Regions from separate parts of the Homo sapiens genome. Here region 2 is linked to region 1. Evidence: promoter capture Hi-C in 16 types of primary human blood cells and fetal thymus (Javierre and others, 2016). All regions are on one chromosome and are shown on one strand. Each heading gives the region's core, a stretch centred on a gene start or on the middle of the fragment in contact. The rest is flanking DNA. Distances are from core to core; before and after follow the strand shown.

Evidence for each region. Contacts are between HindIII fragments. The CHiCAGO score rates a contact against its expected background, and 5 or more counts as called.
Region 2: a fragment that was not itself captured here is called in contact with the fragment with the promoter of SEMA3G in region 1 in 1 of 17 cell types (total B cells); the score reaches 5.5 in total B cells.

What each region holds. Positions count from the first base shown.
Region 1 is chr3:52,443,589-52,447,132 of GRCh38, forward strand. It overlaps SEMA3G (semaphorin 3G), which reads right to left and starts at 1,515. Exons shown (of 16, transcript NM_020163.3): 1 at 1,325-1,515. The coding sequence starts at 1,439. RefSeq lists enhancers at 612-1,488, 1,489-2,365. The HindIII fragment of the contact is 14,119 bases long and covers 1-1,933 here.
Region 2 is chr3:52,199,894-52,203,437 of GRCh38, forward strand. ALAS1 (5'-aminolevulinate synthase 1) reads left to right here. Exons shown (of 12, transcript NM_000688.6): 4 at 2,614-2,841. Among named protein-coding and RNA genes, the nearest start is that of ALAS1, 3.5 kb to the left of the region's middle. The HindIII fragment of the contact is 1,269 bases long and covers 899-2,167 here.

The sequences.
Region 1 (3,544 bases), core at 265-2,764:
AGGGTGCTGGCCACCTTTGGGAAGGCCCAGAGTGTCCTATGCCTTCCCTACGGAAGCACCTCTACCCAACACCCATTCCACCCCCAAAACTCATCAACGGTCTCTTCCGGGAAGCCCTCCATGGATGACAGTACCTTGGGGAACTTTCCCTATTTGGGGCTTTTTCTAGCAGTCTGACCTCCCCGCAAAACCACAGCTCCCGGAACAAGACCACATTCCCCTCAGCCTCTCCAGGGACGAGCGCCATCTCCCCCAGCAGACTGGGCTTCCCAGGGGAAGGTGGTCACCCCTCTGGTTTCCTCAGGAAGGATCTGCCAAGAGCCTGTCTCGGGCCTTCCCTGGGCCCATCCGTGGAGGCCTGAGCCGGCTCACATGTCTAGGGTAGAACACAGGAACCCCCAGGCTGGGATGTGCAAAAAGGGGAGGTGAAACTCCCCCTGGGCTGGGGCGCTTCTTGGGTGCAGGAGCACATGAACAAGCCCACTCTGGGAAGTGGGCTGCAAGGGGGGTCCTCCCCTTCTCTGTGGCCCCAGGACCAAGGGATAGCATGCTGCCTGCTCTCCCGTTGGCCACCCTGGGCAAAAAGTGCCAGTTGAGCCCAGACAGACCCTTCAGCCCCACCCTCTCTGTCACTCTCCCCTGCCTGGTCCCTTCCTCTGTCTCCTCCCCATCTTTATTGAGCTCTCTCAGGGTCTCCATCTGTCCCTTTCTCAGCACTCCCCCTCAGGTGCCTCCCACCGCCACCCTGGTCCTGTCTCCCAGGACCTGCCTCCCTCCCACTCCCCGAGAGCTGTGCAGGGAGAGGCTCCCTCCCCTACAGCTGACCAGGCACCCAAGAGCCCAAGCCACCCAAACAGGGCACACGCACACAAACAGGGCACACGCACCCAAACAGGGCACACGCACACAAACATGGCACACGCACACAAACTCGGCACACGCACCCAAACAGGGCACACGCACACAAACTCGGCACACGCACACAAACACTGCACACGCACCCAAACAGGGCACACGCACACAAACACGGCACATGCACCCAAACAGGGCACACGCACACAAACAGGGCACACGCACACAAACACGGCACACGCAAACTCGGCACACGCACACAAACTCGGCACACGCACACAAACACGGCACACGCAAACTCGGCACACGCACACAAACTCGGCACACGCACACAAACACTGCACATGCACACAAACACGGCACACGCACCCAAACAGGGCACATGCACACAAACACGGCACATGCACCCAAACAGAGCGCACACACACAAACAGGGCACATGCACACAAACAGGGCACGCAGGGGCTGGTACCTCGGTAGGAGAGCCGCAGGCGGGGCACACTGGGGCCGGGGCTGGGGCCAGAGCTACCCCCATGGAGCAGGAGGCCCCCTAGCAGCCAGCAAATGGCCCAGGCCGAGGGGGCCATGCTGGGGAACTGAGGGCACCGCTGCCGCCTGCCTGCAGAGCCGCCCTCTGGTCCCGCTGGCCGCCGGTTGTAGTTTGCTCTGCTGCCACCAGGCCACCACTTATAAGGCAGTGGCTCCACCCAGTCCTGGGCGGGAAGAGGGGCGGAGGAGAGAAGGAGGCTGGGGCCTTGCCGTCCACCTGCCGCTTCTCCTTCCACCTTGTTGGCCCAGTGCAGGCTTTTGTGCCACACTGGCCAGCTCCCCATTGGGAAGACCTTCCCAGCTAGGGCACAGGCCATGTGTACAGAGATGTCCACAAATGCAGGTCCCCAGGCTCCAGCAAAGTGACAAGTGGGGAGAGAGCCTGGAAGGGAGGTCAGGGATCAGAGGTTAAAGTTGATGGGCTGGGTAGGGGCCTAGCTGGGCTCTGCCTTGTTCTCTGCCCCTCCACTGCCCACAGCAGAGACCTTCCAAACTGGCCCTGCCCCAATTCCAGGATATTCCAGCCCCCTGAAGCTTTGGCCAGACTCTCCAGCTCCCCTGGGTAAGGGTGGAGGGCCATTCCCAGCCCAAGGGGCGCCATGTCCTAGACAGGTGTTTGAGGTCCGGCAACACTTCATAGAGCCAGCAAGAGATGACTGCCCAGCCTCTTCCACCCAGGCCTGTCCCCATCTGGCTTCCAGGCACCCCAGCCTCTCCCCACATCTACATGCCCCATCTCAGCTCACCAGGCTTGCTTTGGGGTAGGGGACAGGGGCATCAGGGGACTCCATGCCGAGGGAACCTCCCCTTGCCCTGCCTCCCTCAGGCCTCCAGTCCTTCCAGAGACTCAGGGTCCAGAGCTTCCCCAGGTCAGTGATGGTTCTTCCCAGGGACCCCATGCCCCATAGGCCCTACAGACACCTATGATCTCTTAGAGGTCACTTCCCCCACCCTGAATACTGACTGGGTGGCGGGGGGCACAGAAAGCCACAGAAGAGGGCCAAAGGGGAAATGGGACTGAGGGCCTGAATCTGGGGTGAGTGACGGGACCTCCCCATGCTCCCTGCCCCAGAACAGTCGCCACCTCACCCCACCCCAGAACCCTACACTCAGAACCTGAGGCCCTGGGCACTAAAGAGATTTTAATTTTGAGCTGGAGTTTGAGTTCCCAGGATTCTAACAGCTCCTGCAGGTTGGGCCTCCCACATGGACCGGCCTGGGCCCTCTGATGGTGGTCAGGGAACTTGCGGGGCACTCAGAGAGGGAAGGACCTGGCCCAGGCCACAGAGCAGGCTGAGAATGGGTCCAGCTCAGCTCTGCCCCTTCCTGGGACCCTCCTTTGCTTCTGGGCGTTGTTGGGAGTATGGGGACCCCACCCTCCTCCCCTACCTCAATCCTGAAATGGAAACAGGTTGGCTTCTTGGGTCAGCATGACAGGTCTCAGAGACCTACAACTCTGCCTCCCTGTCCCCAGCTCCCTTCACTCACACATGCCTTCTTCAGCAGGGGGCTGGCCTGGAGGTGGGCAAGGGGCTGCCCACAGAGGCCAGTGATGGAGCTCAGCCCAGCCCTGCCTCTGGCCCTGCTGGAGAGCCTTGGCCAAGGCCCTTCCATCTCTGGGTCTGCCTCTTCCTCCCAGGGCCAGGGACCAGCCACCCTGGGTGTAAGCAGCCTTCATAACCTGATGAGTGGGCTTGCGCAGGGGCTGCTGTCAGGGTGACCATATCCTGGGACCTTGGAGTGGACTGCTTCTGTCTCTGTTTCCCTGGGGAGGTGTGGCCAGCACACTGCCCAAGCTGGGGCCAACTTCTAACTGGAGACTGAGCTAGGCAGCCCTTCAGCCAGCATGTGACCACCAGCGGCGGGCAGGAGGCCCAACACTCCTCAGCCTGCCAGCCCATCCTGGGGTCTCAGCTCAGCCAGACACCCAGCAGGGGCTGCAGGGAAGCCTGGGTCGACTGGGGAAGGGTGTGGGGGCAGCCTACTCCACACTGCGGAAAGAGCCTGTGGCAGGCTGGGAGTCCGAACTCTACTGTTAATGTGTGTGGCCTCAGTCAGGTCCTCTCCTTCTCTGGGCTTCAGTTTTCCAGGCCTGGGGGCAGAGGGTAGGGATCGTCTCTAAAGGCCCCCCTGCTTGCCAGCT
Region 2 (3,544 bases), core at 283-2,782, 240 kb before region 1:
TTACTGCAACCTCCACCTCCCAGGTTCAAGTGATTCTCCTGCCTCAGCCTTCCAAGTATCTGGAATTACAGGCATGCACCACCACGCCCAGATAATTTTTGTACTTTTAGTAGGGTTTCACCTTGTTGGTCCGGCTGGTCTCAAACTCCTGACCTCAAATGATCCACCTGCCTCAGCCTCCCAGAGTGCTGGGATTGCAGGCGTGAGCCACCGTGCCCGGCCCCTTTGGCTTTTTAAAGTAGTGATTTTTTTTTTCTTAAAAGTTTTTGTTCTGTTGTGGTAAAATGCCCAAGAAAAATTACCATTTTAAGCACTTAAAAATGTGCAGTTCAGTGGTACATTCATATTGTTGTGTCACCACCACCATCCATCTCCAGAACTTTTTTCATCTTCCCAAACTGAAATTCTATACCCATCAAACAGTAACTCTCCATTCCTCTCTCCCCAACCCCTGACAACCACCATTCTGCTTTCTGTCTCTATGAATTTGACTATTCTAGGTACCTCATATAAGTGAAATTGTACAGTATTTATTAGTGATTTTTAAAAACAAATTTATCTTGGCTGTGTGCAGTGGCTCACTCCTGTAATCCCAGCGCTTTGGGAGGCCGAGGTGGTTTGATCACCTGAGGCCAGGAGTTCGAGACCAGCCTGGCCACATGGTGAAACCCCACTGTTACAAAAAATACAAAATTAGCTGGATGTGGTGGTGTACGCCTGTAATCCCAGCTATTTGGGAGGCTGAGGCATGAGAATTGCTTGAACCCGGGAGGTAGAGGTTGCAGTGAGCTGAGATCATGCCATGTATCTTTATTTGTATATACATTTGTTGTTGTTGTTTTTAACAAAGAGACTAGAGTTGAATTTAGTTTGCTCTGCTTCTGATAGGAGAGAACAAAGCTTTTCAGGTTCCACTTAATCCCAGAGAATATTTTACAGGTTTTTCTTAGGCGTGTTCTCTGGGTGTGGGCTTGTAAGAAAATAAGTTTTTTTTTTCTTTAAGCAGAAAGGATTTAATCCTTTGTAGGGTTTATTTTCAAGAGTTAGTTACGTCTTTTTTACCAAAATGCTTGCAATGGCTATGTTTTAAATGATAGGATTTTTTTCTTTTTCTAGACTTTAATGAATATGTATTACTTTTATAATAAATGAAATTAACTTCAAAATAATTTTTTTGGCCTTCCGTTATAGAAGATTTTAATGAAAACTGTATTGAGACACTTTACCCAAGTTATAGGAAAGGCTAGCCAGTGACTCACAGGAGTGTTCCAGAATGATGAAGAAAGACTTTTCTAGAAAGAAGGTGAATGAATTTGCTCAAGGGGAGAGGGAAGTCACTGTAGCTAGAAGGATAATTACCAGCCAACGGTGTTTAGTCAGCAGACTTTGATGAATTTAGATGAGAAAGTAGATGAGGTATGTGAATGTGATATACCCCTATTTTTTCTTACTTTATTAGCAATCTAAAGACCTAAGTCTTAGTCTAATTTCTGTTGTTTAGATGAAAACCAATAGCTTTTATGTTAAGCAACAGCAAGCCTCTTTGTCAAGAATCTGTTTAGAAAATGTCAGCAGAGACAGGATGTGGTGGCTCATGCCTGTAATTCCAGCACTTTGGGAGGCTGAGGCGGGAGGACTGCTTGAGCCTAGGAGTTTGATAGAAGCTAGGGCCACATAACAAGACTCCGTCTCTACAAAAAATAAAAAATAAAAAGAATTAGCTGGGCGCAGTAGAACACCTGCAGTCCAAGCTACTTGGAGAGCTAAGGTGAGAGGATCACTTGAGCCTGGAGGTCAAAGCTGCAGTTAGCTATGATTGCACCATGCACTCTAGCCTGGTTGACAGAGTGAGATCCTGTTTCAAAAAAAAAGGAAAGGAAAATGTTAGCAGAGAAAAAAATGTGTGTGAATATTTCCCGTTACCTTACAGAGTGTGTCCTCTCATAAAATAAGCTGAGTGTAGTTGGGGTAGAAATTACTGGAAATGATCCAACTCAAGGATTCCGGGTTGTCTAAAACTAGAAAATGGTACTTTTTTTGGATTTATGACGAGAAATACTGTGGGTTTAAGAGGCAACTGGAATGTGCCAGTTAACTCTTCATAGACGCATTGTTTCCTGTGAAGCAGATGAAAAACTAGAGAGATTAGCAGAACCTAATAAAAATAAGCTTGTGGCTGAGTGCAGTGGTTCACGCCTATAATCCCAGCACTTTGGGAGGCCAAGGCAGGTGGATAACCTGAGGTCAGGAGTTCAAGACCAGCCTGGACAACATGGTGAAACCCCATCTCTACTAAAAATACACAAATTAGCCAGGCATGGTGGCACACACCTGTAACCCCAGCTACTTGGGAGGCTGAGGCATGAGAATCACTTGAACCCAGGAGGTGGAGGTTGTAGTGAGCCAAGATTGTGCCACTGTACTCCAACCTGGGGTACAGAGCAAGACTCCATCTTAAAAACAAAACAAAACAAAAAAAACACTTGTGTCTGGATGGTGGGGTACAGTAAGTATTAAGTTTATCTTTGAGGCAATAAAAGAAAGAAATAAGTGGTTTTCTTACATACTGTGCAACCAGATCTGATGCTTCACTTTTTCCATTTCCTCCCTCAGAAGACAAAACTGCTAAGGCCAAGGTCCAACAGACTCCTGATGGATCCCAGCAGAGTCCAGATGGCACACAGCTTCCGTCTGGACACCCCTTGCCTGCCACAAGCCAGGGCACTGCAAGCAAATGCCCTTTCCTGGCAGCACAGATGAATCAGAGAGGCAGCAGTGTCTTCTGCAAAGCCAGTCTTGAGCTTCAGGAGGATGTGCAGGAAATGAATGCCGTGAGGAAAGGTAAGAGATGAGTTGTGAACCATTAGTGGTAGTGAAGGGGTCCTTTTAGTTCTTTTGGGCCCTCAGATTTGTGTATGAGCTATTATTAGGGCAGTATTTATGGAAACACCTTCCTCTTTTAGGGCCAGAGAGGAAGGTCTTCAAGATAGACAGTCAAGGGACTGTATTGCGAAAGTGGGACTTTCTTTCTGGTGCGTGTGTGGGATGTGACCAGCTTTTATAGTTACTACTTAATTTCTGAAAATAACCTGCAGTCTTGAGCTGCCACCAGCTGCCTTTTGTCCCTTTGGTCTTTCCCATCATCTGCTAGGATAAAGATAGAAAATAATGGTTTTACTGCAGTAAGTGCTGGTCCTAGGGCTCCCAAGCCGTGTGTCTTACTGATGGTCATTGAATTGCAACCTTAACTCCACAATATATAGGTGTGGCTATATCTGCAGAGAACTCAAGGCTCCCCAAAAGCCTAACCAGCAGAAATTATGCATATGGCCAAAATTGTTTTCTATGAAGAAAATTGAGATTAGGACCAGGCCCAGTGGCTCACACCTATAATCCCAGCACTTTGGGAGGCCGAGGCAGGTGGATCACTTGAGGCCAGGAGTTTAAGACCAGCCAGGCCAACATGGGGAAACCCCATCCCTACCAAAAATACAAAGATTAGCTGGGCATGATGGCGCATGCCTATAGTCCCATCTTCTCAGGA